Linked DNA regions of Homo sapiens: all the other regions are linked to region 3. The links are contacts of gene promoters, found by promoter capture Hi-C in human tissues and cell types (Jung and others, 2019). All regions are on one chromosome and are shown on one strand. The core of a region is centred on a gene start or on the middle of the fragment in contact, and the rest is flanking DNA. Distances in the headings are between cores, read along the strand shown.

What was found. The method cuts DNA at HindIII sites, captures the fragments that hold promoters and counts their contacts. A contact is called where the count stands out against the background at its distance.
Region 1: a contact is called between a fragment that was not itself captured here and the fragment with the promoter of MYBL1 in region 3, in 1 of the 25 tissues and cell types used here (H1 embryonic stem cells).
Region 2: a fragment that was not itself captured here is called in contact with the fragment with the promoter of MYBL1 in region 3 in 1 of the 25 tissues and cell types used here (dorsolateral prefrontal cortex).
Region 4: a contact is called between a fragment that was not itself captured here and the fragment with the promoter of MYBL1 in region 3, in 1 of the 25 tissues and cell types used here (hippocampus).

The regions. Positions count from the first base shown.
Region 1 is chr8:67,042,072-67,044,962 of GRCh38, reverse strand. COPS5 (COP9 signalosome subunit 5) reads left to right here. Exons shown (of 8, transcript NM_006837.3): 8 at 1,646-1,884. The coding sequence ends at 1,730. Among named protein-coding and RNA genes, the nearest start is that of PPP1R42, 15 kb to the right of the region's middle. The HindIII fragment of the contact is 4,464 bases long and covers 1-2,891 here.
Region 2 is chr8:67,075,846-67,078,683 of GRCh38, reverse strand. It overlaps CSPP1 (centrosome and spindle pole associated protein 1), which reads right to left. Exons shown (of 31, transcript NM_001382391.1): 3 at 2,103-2,202. Among named protein-coding and RNA genes, the nearest start is that of CSPP1, 13 kb to the right of the region's middle. The HindIII fragment of the contact is 3,037 bases long and covers 1-2,838 here.
Region 3 is chr8:66,611,886-66,615,116 of GRCh38, reverse strand. MYBL1 (MYB proto-oncogene like 1) reads left to right here and starts at 1,899. Exons shown (of 16, transcript NM_001080416.4): 1 at 1,899-2,298. The coding sequence starts at 2,279. LOC105375884 (a long non-coding RNA gene) reads right to left here and starts at 1,568. Exons shown (of 2, transcript XR_929015.3): 1 at 1,465-1,568; 2 at 1-1,072. RefSeq lists enhancers at 1,053-1,102, 1,113-1,192, 1,243-1,382 and a silencer at 1,613-2,132. The HindIII fragment of the contact is 9,266 bases long and covers 1-3,231 here.
Region 4 is chr8:67,025,886-67,028,913 of GRCh38, reverse strand. It overlaps PPP1R42 (protein phosphatase 1 regulatory subunit 42), which reads left to right and starts at 360. Exons shown (of 8, transcript NM_001364910.1): 1 at 360-423. LOC105375885 (a long non-coding RNA gene) reads right to left here and starts at 336. Exons shown (of 4, transcript XR_929017.2): 1 at 269-336. The HindIII fragment of the contact is 6,535 bases long and covers 1-3,028 here.

The DNA.
Region 1 (2,891 bases), core at 119-2,618, 430 kb before region 3:
TATATAGGCTATACAAAGTTGCAAAGATTAATAACATTTACTTTCACAGAAATTTGAATTTTAGGCCGGGCACAGTGGTTCACACCTGTAATCCCAGCACTTTGGGAGGCCAAGGCAGGCAGATCACCTGAGATCAGGAGTTCAAGACCAGCCTGGCCAACATGGTGAAACCCCATCTTTACTAAAAATACAAAAATTAACCGGGCGTGGTGGCGGGCACCTGTAATCCCAGCTATTCAGGAGGCTGAGGCAGAAGCATCACCTCCACCCAGGAGGTGGAGATTGCAGTGAGCCAAGATGGCGCCATTGCACTCCAGCCTGGCCAACAAGAGCGAAACTCTGTCTCCAAAAAAAAAAAAGAAAGAAAAGAAATTTGAATTGTAATGCAATAATTAGAGGCAGAAAGGAAGGAAGAAACATATTGACTTCTATAAACATTTATATGTTGGTATCTATTTTAAGAACTGGTTTGGTTTATAGGGAAAAGAAGAGAAAAGAGTAGCTAAAGTGTATCCTGGGATTGGAGGTCATTTTGGGTTAGCCTTATTTCACTGCCATCTTCTCAGTGGGTTTTTAGAAGGTAGAGCTAGTGGCCTGCATAAAAGTTGCGTTTTTCGGCTGGGCATGGTGACGCATGCTTATAATCCCAGCCCTTTGGGAGGCCAAGGCAGGCATATTGCTTGAGCTCAAGAGTTTGAAACCAGCCTGGGCAACATGGCAAAACCCCATCTCTGCAAAAATTTAAAAAAAAAATTAGCTGGGCATGGTGGCGCAGATCTGTGGTTCCAGCTACTTAGGAGGCTGAGGCACAAGAATCACTGGAGCCTAGGAGGCAGAGGTTGCAGTGACCCATGATTGTGCCACTGCACTCCAGCCTGGGTGACAGAGTGAGACTCTGTCTCCAAAAAAAAGTATTTTTCGTTGGCATCAGGAGTCATTTTAGATACTTGCTTTGAGTGTGTGTTTTGTTCATCTGTCTTTATGTATGTCATTTATCAGTTTATCTACATTTATTAATTATGAAGCAAAAATTTTACTATGGCAATGTCTTCAATTATATAAGAAATAGAACAGAAGTAGTAATCAAAAGTAGAGAATTTTCCTTTTTGGGGTAGCTTTACAAGAATTGCATCTCTTCTGAGTATTGGTGGGGTTTTGTCATTTCTTTTGCCTTATACTTTTTATCATTTCTAAAATCTAAGGCCTTCACCCGCTAACCTAAGTTTGACTTCTGATTGTTGGAGGATGCTTGTGATTATTTCAGAAAAAAGCATAGTATTCTTTAAAATTATTTGTCAAATTATCCTAAGTAATAAACAAGGAATAACAGATTTTAATATAATATAATATTAGAATCAATCTCTAATTACAGGTTTGTATAATTTTACTCACCTTCTAAAACAGAACAATTGTATCAAATTTTACGTTGTCATTCTCTTGTGAAAGTTCTAGTAAGTAATGAAATGGTCAAAAAGACATGGGGAAGACTAATAAAATCACAAGGGAAAACTTCAGATTGGGGTGGTTTGAGAAGTATGAATAAAACTAAACTCATTGGAGTTACATGGATGGATTGGGGCTGATCTTGTGTGTTTGAAATAGTTTTCAATTTATGACATCATGTGATGTGTGTTTTTTTTTCCAGCTGTAAAACTACCATAGAAGCTATCCATGGATTGATGTCTCAGGTTATTAAGGATAAACTGTTTAATCAAATTAACATCTCTTAAACAGTCTCTGAGAAGTACTTTACCTGAAAGACAGTATGAGAAAAATATTCAAGTAACACTTTAAAACCAGTTACCCAAAATCTGATTAGAAGTATAAGGTGCTCTGAAGTGTCCTAAATATTAATATCCTGTAATAAAGCTCTTTAAAATGAAATTGTCCTTTGATTTTTTTGTGGGAAGATTCGCAATATTTTTCTAGTATCCATTACGGTTCTTGAATATGAGAGAAAATATATTTATTAGAACTTTCTATTTTTAAGTTTAGACTATCTAAATTAGTCAATTTCAGCATTTCACTTGCCATACTGATTGTCAGAACCACTTTTCAATTTGTCCCTTCTTTTGACTGTCTGTAAGTAAAATATAATTTAACAGTTCATTATTTTAATAATGTATTAGGAACACTTTTAATGTTCCTACAAAACATTAGCTGAGTAGTACCATAAATTATTTTCCTGAAAATCAAATACTTATTAGAGACAGCCTAGCACAGGGTATCTAGTCCTTCAAATATTCATCACATACCTTTCCTGAGCTGGTGACTGTTACTCTCTGGAAATATGCTGAACAAGCTAGACATGGCCACTGTCCTCACAGAACTTCTGGAGGCTAAAGCTTAATTAACAAGAACTTAAAGATACTGCTGTGAGGGGAGAAATAAAGTGTGTTGGGGACTCATGGGGAGGAATGCATGTCCTCAAGAGGGGTTAGCAAAGTTGGCTTCCTGAAGGATGTGGCCTGACCATTAAGTTGAAACATGAAAGGATTAGCCAGAAGAGAGTAACAGGGAGGTGGTTACTATTACAGGCAGGGAGTACAGCAGTGTGTAGAAGCTCAGAGGTAGAAAGCAAGAACCTAGAACCTTCAAGGAAATGAGATTCAGTTAGACTTAAGATTGGTAAGTAGGGCCAAGCATGGTGGCTCACGCCTGTAACCCCAGCACTTTGGGAGGCTGAGGCAGGAGAATTGCTTGAGCTCAGCAGTTCGAGACCAGCCTGGGGTAACATGGCAAAACGCCATCTCTACTAAAAGTACAAAAAAATACCCAGGTGTGGTAGTGCGCGCCTGTGGTCCCAACTACTTGGGAGGCTGAGGTGGGAGGATCGCTTGAGCCAGTGGCAGGGGGTTGGGGGTGCAGTGAGCCGTGATCGCACCACTGTA
Region 2 (2,838 bases), core at 263-2,762, 460 kb before region 3:
AACTACTTTTAAAAAGATGGAAGGCCAGGCACAAGTGGCTCACACCTGTAATCCCAGAACTTTGGGAGGCCGAGGCAGGCGGATGGCTTGAGCTAGCGAGTTCGAGACCAGACCAGCCTGGGCAACATAGCGAAACACCACCTCTACAGAAAATATATGTATATAAAAAAAAGTTAGCCAGCATGGTGGTGCTCACCTGTGGTCTCAGCTACTTGGAGGCTGAGGAGGGAGGATGAATCACTTAAGCCTGGACAGTGGAGGTTGCAGTGAGCCAAGATTATGCCACTGCACTCCAGCCTGGGCGACAAAGTAAGATCCTGTCTCAAAAAAAAAAGATGTTAAGGAGAAAAAGAAATTAATATTTATTGTGTACCAATTACGTGCCAGCCATCTTTTCACGTATTTAACTTTCGCCCATAACGACTTTTTGAGATAGATGTCATAAGATAAGGAAACAAAGTGTAGCTCCTGACAGGTCATAAAGGCATCACAGCCCAATCCAAAGCAAGCTGTAACCCTAGAATTTAAAAGGGATTCTGTCTAACCTTAGCGACCTTAGTGCTTGAGATAACCTACTATTAAACTTTTTAAAAATTATCTCTTGGAATAATTAAAATTTAGATTCATAAAAACGTAGGGCTGGAAGATAATCAAACTTATTTCACAGAAAAAAAATTGAGAGCCTTAGAGATTAAAAAATTTTACCAATATATAATACTTTAGTTCACTAATGCTGTATATTAATAATTTATAAGAGATTCAAAATGGAAAGAGTTATCTATCTGATATTAAAAGTAGGGCACTCACTTTGAGCTATTTGTCTAATGCAGAGACAAAGCTTACTGACTATCCAGTTTCTTGGCCGGCATCCCCTTGTATCCACTGGCACACAAAAACAATTTAGGAGTATACCTACATCCATGAAAAGCTGTCCATTTGAGAACAATGCTTTAATCAAATGAACTTATCATAGTTGATTTTCTTTTTGTGAAAAAGTTTGTCATCATCAATAAATCACAAAATGCACATTGAAAATATTCATACAGGTCGGGCACAGTGGCTCACGCCTGTAACCCCAGCTTTGGGAGGCCGAGGCGGGCAGGCAGATCACCTGAGGTCAGGAGTTCGAGACCAGCCTGGCCAACACTGCGAAACCCTGTCTCTACCAAAAATATAAACAATTAGCTGAGTGTGGTGGCATGCGCCTGTAATCCCAGCTACTTGAGAGACTGAGACAGGAGAATCGCCTGAACCTGGGAGGTGGAGGCGGCAGTGAGCCGAGATCGTGCCACTGCACTCCAGCCTGGGCGACAGGGTCAGACTCAGCCTTGAAGAAAAAAAAAAAAAATTATATATATTCATACAGACTGGGCATGGTGGCTCAGGCCTGTAATTGTAGTACTTTGGGAGGCCAAGGCAGGAGGATTGCTTGAACCCAGGAGTTCAAGATAACACTGAACTATGATCATGCCACTGCACTCCAGCCTGAGTGACAGAGAGAGAGAGAGAGAGACCCTGTCTTTAATAAATAAACAAAAATTTTTACATATTCATACATTTTCTTTTTTTAAAATGTATACCTACCAACAAGCCAAAATGTGGTAAAAAGTTTCCAAATATTTTCATACCATACCATAATCAAAGCATTAGTATGGCTACAGTATTAACTTCTTTACAATTCCAACATGATCATCAATAATTAAAATAGTCTTTCACCAAACAGCATTTTGTACCCTTTAAGCATATTTCTTTAATTTTTAAATAAGCAAGTTCACCATTTTCAATCAACAAATAAAAGTTTCTCTTCTCTCTCTCTCTCACACACACAAATTCCTTTCAAAGTTTTCAATTTTTAAGTTATGTTATACACACCTTCTTCTATAAGTTCCATAAATCATAACCAATGCAGTATCACATAAAACAAGTACAAAGTTTTCAGTATGAGTTCTATTTCATATGTAGACCATATTGACTTACGTAAGATTCCAGAAAGAAAAACTACTAGGATTCCAAATAAATCTTTTTTTCTGACAAGACAAACCTCTTTCAGAAGAGCCCACTAAGGATATCTTAAAATAAGTTTAGCACATCTAATGACATACCTAAGGAACCCCTGGTCTGTTGACTATTTGGTGGTATGTTTTCCTTAGCCATAGAGATCAGTATCTTACTGTTTTCAGAAAGCTTCGCTGACAACTTTCCCTGAAAGAGACATAATGTTTACAAAAGCAAGAGGAAAAAAAAAACCATGAAATATACAACTCATCTCAAATTTTAATTAAACAGCTTGATGAAATTACACAGTACATCATAGAAGAAATTAAGTGTAAGGTTTGAGGAATTAGCCAAAGGTATTTTAATTTTATAATAGATATTCTAATATTTAACTCATTCACTTACCAACAAATATTTACTGAGTTCCCATTAAGTGCCAAACATTTTGTCAAGCATTGAAAGTATAAGAGTTTTAAAAAATAGAAGAATTTCTGCCATCATGAAGCTTATAAACTATTGGGGGGACACATAATGAACTCAACACATGATTAGATTATGTGATATGTAGATAGTGGCAGGAAGTGGTTATGGAAAAAAAAAAAAGCAGATTAAAGTAAGGAGGCCCAGAAATGCTGGGGGACTATAAGGCCTCACTGAGCAGGTGATACTTGAACTAAGACTTAAAATTATTTATGTACAAATTAATGTTAGAAATTATAACAAAACTGTCTTTAAAGCTATGTACTCCAAATCATGTAACTCCAAAGCCGTAAGCTGGTCCTAACTACTGGAGAGTGGTTAAGAGATAGACTCTGGAGCTGCATAAAGGTTCCACTCCTGAAT
Region 3 (3,231 bases), core at 650-3,149:
GAGTTTTATAACTGATTTCAGTAATTTCACAATGTTATCTTTCTGGGAATTGCTTTTCTCTATATGTAAAAATGAGGGAAATTTGTTTTACTGTCAAAATCTAAAACATTTGTCTTCAAGCTCTAAAAAAGGTATTCTGTATAAAACTGAATACAGCCTAAAATATAGCAGAAGCTCTGCTTCCTGTTAGATATAAATAAGTGAAGTAATGTACGACCCAGGGGTAAATAAGAAAACAGTGAAACAGTGATTCCAAATGACATTGGGAACATAATGAAATTTGGGAACTCATTTCTAAATTATTTTTTATTTTTTTATTTTTACTGAACCAGCAACCCAGTAAGGAATGATCTGGAAGAAACGCTTGGCCAGGTGTTGTGGCGCGCGCCTGTAGTCCCAGCTACTTTGGAGGCTGAGGCAAGAGGATCGCTGTTCGAGGCTACTGTAAGCTATGATTGTGCCACTGCACTCCAGCATGGGGAATAGAGTGAGACCTAGTCTCAAAAAAAAAACAACAAAAAAAAAAACAGGAGAGAAAAAGAAAAGCTGTTTTATCTTCCCTTACCTTCCCAGAATCTATACCTTGAAAAAAGGAACTGTTAAAAAAAAAAAAGCCAGTGTGTTTAGGTTTTGACAGCAGTGCATGCAAGCTTCTCTCTTAATTCAGCTCCTCTTAATTCACTCTGCACCTGCATCTGATTTGCAAAAGATGAAGCGTAAAATTTCAAAATAGCAAGTGTTTGTTACAGTGTTAACATGTGGCTCAGTGCTCTATGCAATAGACCATGTTGCCTTGCAAATTTTCCTTAGCCAAGTGTAATTGTTACTGTAGCAAATCTACTTTAATGCTACTTGAAATGAACAGTTCGTAGTTATTAGACTGGAACCTCAAGTAGCTGCAACCGCTAGAAACTCCTCCGGTGGTTCCCCCCTCCCTGGTCTCTCCAGAGGGAAGAAGGTCACCTTCTACACTTAACTACCATGCTCATTCATCTGGACGAAATGCCCAGTCCACTGTCTTCTTCACGCGTTATTCTCCAGGACAGGGCTCCTCCGCCGCGCACGTTATTTCCTGTAGAGCGGGCACGAAATTAAGCACCTTGAAGACCAGCGGTAGACACAGATTATCTCCGGTTCCAAGCACGTCTCCCGCTAGGAACTTTTTTCACTTGTCACTCTTCTGCTGCTTTTTGAGGAAAACAGGTGATATTTGGTTTCCTGCCAGAGTCTTCGTCACTCTCGTAACTATGATGTCTGGGTAAAAATAGCTCACATTTTTGCTTAAAAAATAACGGCCGCGCAAATTTATGGTTAGATTTGTCTCAAGTCTGAAGACCGCGCATCCTAACTAGTGAGGCGGAAGACACCTAAGGAGCCAGGAGCTGTCGCCGAGGCGAGGCTGCGGAGACGTTCCCTTGGTGGGCCGCGGGACCACCCACCCCGCCAGAAACTCGGTTCGCTCACCCTAAGAATTTTGGGGCAACTGGACTTCTCCACCGCCCGCTTCCGGACCCGCTCCGGCGCCGCTTCCGGACCCACTCCTCGGCGAGCGCAGGAACTCGCTCTCCCAGCAGGCCCCGCGCGGTGCGCCTCTCGGCGCGTTCCGGGTCCTATGACAGCTCGGCTCGCATGCGCCACCTACGGCCCCACCCGCGGCCCCACCCCCTGGCTCCCGGCTCCTTCCCCGACTCCCGCGAGTTCCAGTCCCAGCTTCCAGCTCCCCAGCCCCGCCCTCAGCCGCGCGCGCTCTCCCCTCCCCGCCCTCGCTTCTTCGCGTGCGGCCCCCACAGCCAATGAGGTTCAGGGCCGCGTGCGCAGATTCAAACGGCGGCTCTTGAGGGAGGCTGGGCGCGAGATTCGGCGGTGCGGACAAAACCCTGCAGGAGACTGCGAGCCCTGCAGAACTGCTAGCTGCGGGGGAGAGGGCAGGGGTCGGGCGCCTGTGGCGGAGCCGGGCTGGGGCCAGGGCAGGGAGGCTGACAAGCGGCGGGAGAAGCCGGCGGAGGGCGGGATCGCGCCTCCTGACATGTTGGGGGTATCCCTGGCCGGGCCGGGCCGGGGCTAAGAGCGGCGCTGCGGGCCGGGGTCGGGGTCGGGTCGCGGTCCGCCCCCGCTGTCCCTCCGTCCTGCCCTGTCGAGGACGTGCGTTCCGCACTCGGCCGCCTCCAGAGGGAGCGAGGGAAGCGGCTAGAGGATCGGGGAGAAGGAGCATTCGCCGGAGGCTGGAGGAGGCTGACCCGCGTCCCCGCCCAGCCTGCTCCTATGCGGTACTTGAAGGATGGCGAAGAGGTCGCGCAGGTGGGTGGCACCCCTTTCGCCCAGGCCTGTCGGCGCCGTCTCGGCTCAGATTCTCTTTCCTATCCCGCTGCCCCCTCCCGCCATAAGGCCCTCCCTGGCGAGGGCAGAGGTTTTTCTTCCCGCGTCCCCGCGGCCGCTTGGCCTCGATGACCGGAGGGCAGCTGCGACGTGTGGAGAGTTGGGGACCAGGGTGTTTGAGGCGCGGGACGTAAGAGATGCCCAGGTTTCTCGGTGACTCTCCCCGTAATGCGCGTCCAGATTTCTGACCTCATGCTGCCACTTCTTCGAGGCAGGTTTCTTGCCAGGTAAGTCGAGCGCTTTTAGGGAGTCCGCTACGCAGAGAAAACTGACTGTGTCCTGCCGGGAGGACTTGAAAATGGTGTTCGGGCGACTCTTTTCTGAATGACGGTACAGTCAAAATAGGAACTCCGCGGTGAACCTGGGCGGCCACCCCTCTGCCAACTTGGCTATCTTGAAACGTTGTGGAAAATCCTCTGGGGAATAGCTGAGAGGACTTTTTTGATGTTTTCTGTAATTCCTATACCCATATGCTCAGCTTTATGTATATATGTATATTTTAATATCCTCTCTTGGGACCATGTCACATAGTAACAACTAGTAGTAACAACTAGTAGCTTGATCTTGAAATAAAACAATGTGTTTGATTCACTTAATATTTTGAGTGTCTGTGTTTGGCTCTGACCGTACCTAAGTGTTCCACAGAGGTAAGGCACTTTTTTCCACCTTTGCCTGGAAAATGTGCTAGGATGAATTTATGCATCTAATTTTCGTTTACATGCCATTACAGCAGCTACTCATAAATTATGTGGAGTAATTGCTTAGATAACAAAAATATAGGATGTCTTCCGATTTTCAGCATTATCAAATAAACCTGAAAAGATGTTTGGCAGGATTTCCAAATATTTATTTATC
Region 4 (3,028 bases), core at 508-3,007, 410 kb before region 3:
GAATCAGATAATTCCTTTCCTGGTCTGTTATTGGGAAAAGGTGGTTGTTGGGCACTGAAACGGTCAAAGCCGATGGCAGGATAATCCGGTAGGGGGAAATGGTGGTCTGCCAAAAATTGTTCCGGCTACTAACTGGTCCACTAAAACAATGCGGTGACCGATGCCTCACGGCCTCTTCAAGCTAACAGGACTCTAGTCGGAGTCGGCCTAGTGACCACCGTCAGTGCCCATCAGCGCCCGGCCGCCGCCTCACAGGGGAAGGACCCACCGGGGAGGGAGCAGCCTGCGATGTCGCGAGATTTCTCGTGAGCGGCGCTTGGACAGCGCGTCTGGTCGCCCAGCAACCGCCGCTGGTCTGCGTAGGGACCCGGCGCCGATGAAACCGACCAAACTGGAGTTAGCTACCGGACTGTCCCGCGAGCGGTGAGCTGCCCGCGGGGAATAAGCGTGGGGACCGAGGAAACCCTAGAACCATGTTTCTCAAACTTGCCTGCCAGTAAGACTTTCCGGGACATTTGTTAAAATGCAGATCCTTGGGCCCTATCTTTAGACATACAGAATTTCCAGAAAAAATAGTCTGGAAGTCTGTGTTTTTAACAAATGGTTAGCTGGCAAGATTGTGAAACAGCTCTAGAGGAGGGAGACACAGGTGGAGGGGTGGTCGCGGGGCTGAGGAAGCAGCCCGGTGGGCGTGGAGCTGAGTTTGAAAGGGAAGGGTTTTGAAAAGCCTGAGGGCTGGAGCCAGTGATTTAGAGCATCTGGAAGCCACTGAGCCTGTGGCCTAAGTGGAAGTATAGATACTAACAGAATTCAGAAAACGTTGTCCACTGCCTCTAGTCTGTGGGAATTCCAGTAGATGAAAGCCAAGGGGTCCATTAAAATGGATTCCACCCATGTAAGAAACCTGCACATGTACCCCCCAAACCGAAAAGCTGGAAAACAACAACAAAACGAACAAACAAAAAAACAAAAAACACCAACAAAAAGCTAACAATAAAATGGATCCCTAGAGCCTGTAAAGAAGCTCTAAGCTGTTCCCACCGGTGGCCTGGGAGAGAGAGATCTAGTAAGAGGAGTCCCAAAGTAACACGAGATATCTAGAAGGTGGAAAGTAGGCAAAAGCAGTTTCTCAAACTTTAGAACACAATCTCTTTTAAAAGAAAACCAAAGACACTTCACAAGTGCGGACATTATTTTTATTATAATGTTCTAAAATATATCCAAATCCACTTTAGGTTCAGTTTAAGCTCCTGAAGCTTTTAATTTTCTAAAACAATAAAAACTACCAATACAGTTTAAATTAATATTGTTTTTAACAAGATGAATGGTGGTGTTTTGATGAAACTAAATTCTTTCTTATGGACTGCTACAATGCAAATTCTTTTGAGTTAACAGTCTATTATTTTGTGTTGTGGGTTGATTCAGTTCTCTCCTTTTCCATATTCAAGCCCCTAGAAAGTTTTCCTATAGCTTGCTGATGAGGTCCATTGACCTTCCCTTGGTTTAATAAATACTTCACTTACATACAAAGTTTGCCTCTGTCCTTTTCCAAAATTATCTAAGGTCATTAATTTTTATCTATGTGAACACCAGTTTATACACTGAAATCTATAGACGGAATCCATTTCTAAAGTGAAAGTATTAAGAATATGTCATTTCAAAATATGCTGCTCTGGCATATTGACTATATTTAGATAAAAGCACTTGAAAAATTGCTGGGCATGGTGGCTCACACTTGTAATCCTAGCACTTTGGGAGGCTGAGGCGGGCGGATCACTTGAGATCAGGAGTTCCAGACCAGCCTGGCCAACATAGCAAAACCCCATCTCTACTAAAAATACAAAAATTAGCCAGGCGTGGTGGTGCATGCCTGTAATCCCAGCTGCTCGGGAGACTGAGGCAGAAGAATCGCTTGAACCCAGAAGGCAGAGGTTGCAGTGTGCCGAAATCGCACCACTGAACTCCAACCTGAGCAACAGACCAAGACTCCATCTCAGGAAAAAAAAAAAAAAAAAGCACTTGAAAAATGACAGGTAAAAGACGATTGCTCTGACTTTTATTCTGTTTTTTGTTTTTTGTTTTGAGACAGGTTCATGCTCTGTTTCCCAGGCTGAAGTGCAGTGGCGCAATCACAGCTCACCACAGCCTTGACTTCCCAGGCTCAAGCAATCCTCCTGCCTCAACCTCCCAAATAGCTGGGACCACAGGCGTGTACCACCATGCCCGGCTCATTTATTTTTGTAGAGACAGGGGTCTCGCCATGTTGCTCAGGCTGGTCTCGAACTCCTGGGCTCAAGCAATCCTCCCACCTCAGCCTCCCAAAGTGCTGGGACTACAGGTGTGAGCCAACACACCCTGCCTGTTCTTTTTCTTAAAAGCAGGAGAATAAATTTTTATGTGAAAGATTTCCTCCCTATACTAGAAAGTATCATTCTTACCATCAAGGACTAGAAGCTGAAGCCAAGGAAAAGCTGTACAAACAAATGTTTTTACAGGAACCCTTCACCAATCAACTACCCTAGCCCTAGCCCAAGCTCCTTTACCTTGTCACATTTTCTTTTTTCTTTTTTTTTTTGAGATGGAGTTTCACTCTTGTTGCCCAGTCTGGAGTGCAATGGTGCAATCTTGGCTCACCACAACCTCTGCCTCCTGGGTACAAGCGATTCTCCTGCCTCAGCCTCCCGAGTAGCTGGGATTACAGGCATATGCCACCATGCCCGGCTAATTTTTTTGTATTTTTAGTAGAGACAGGGTTTCATCATATTGGTCAGGCTGGTCGCAAACTCCTGACCTCAGGTGATCCACCCACCTCGGCCTCCCAAAGTGCTGGGATTACAATCATGAGCCACCGCGCCCGGCCACATTTTCACAATTTACTATGCTCTTATTTTTTCTTTTTTTTTTTTTTTGAGACGGAGTCTCACTCTATCGCCCAGGCTGGAGCGTAGTGGTGCGATCTGGGCTCACTGCCACCTCTGCCTCCCAGGTTCAAGCGATTCCTCTGCCTCAGCCTCCTGAGTAGCTGGGA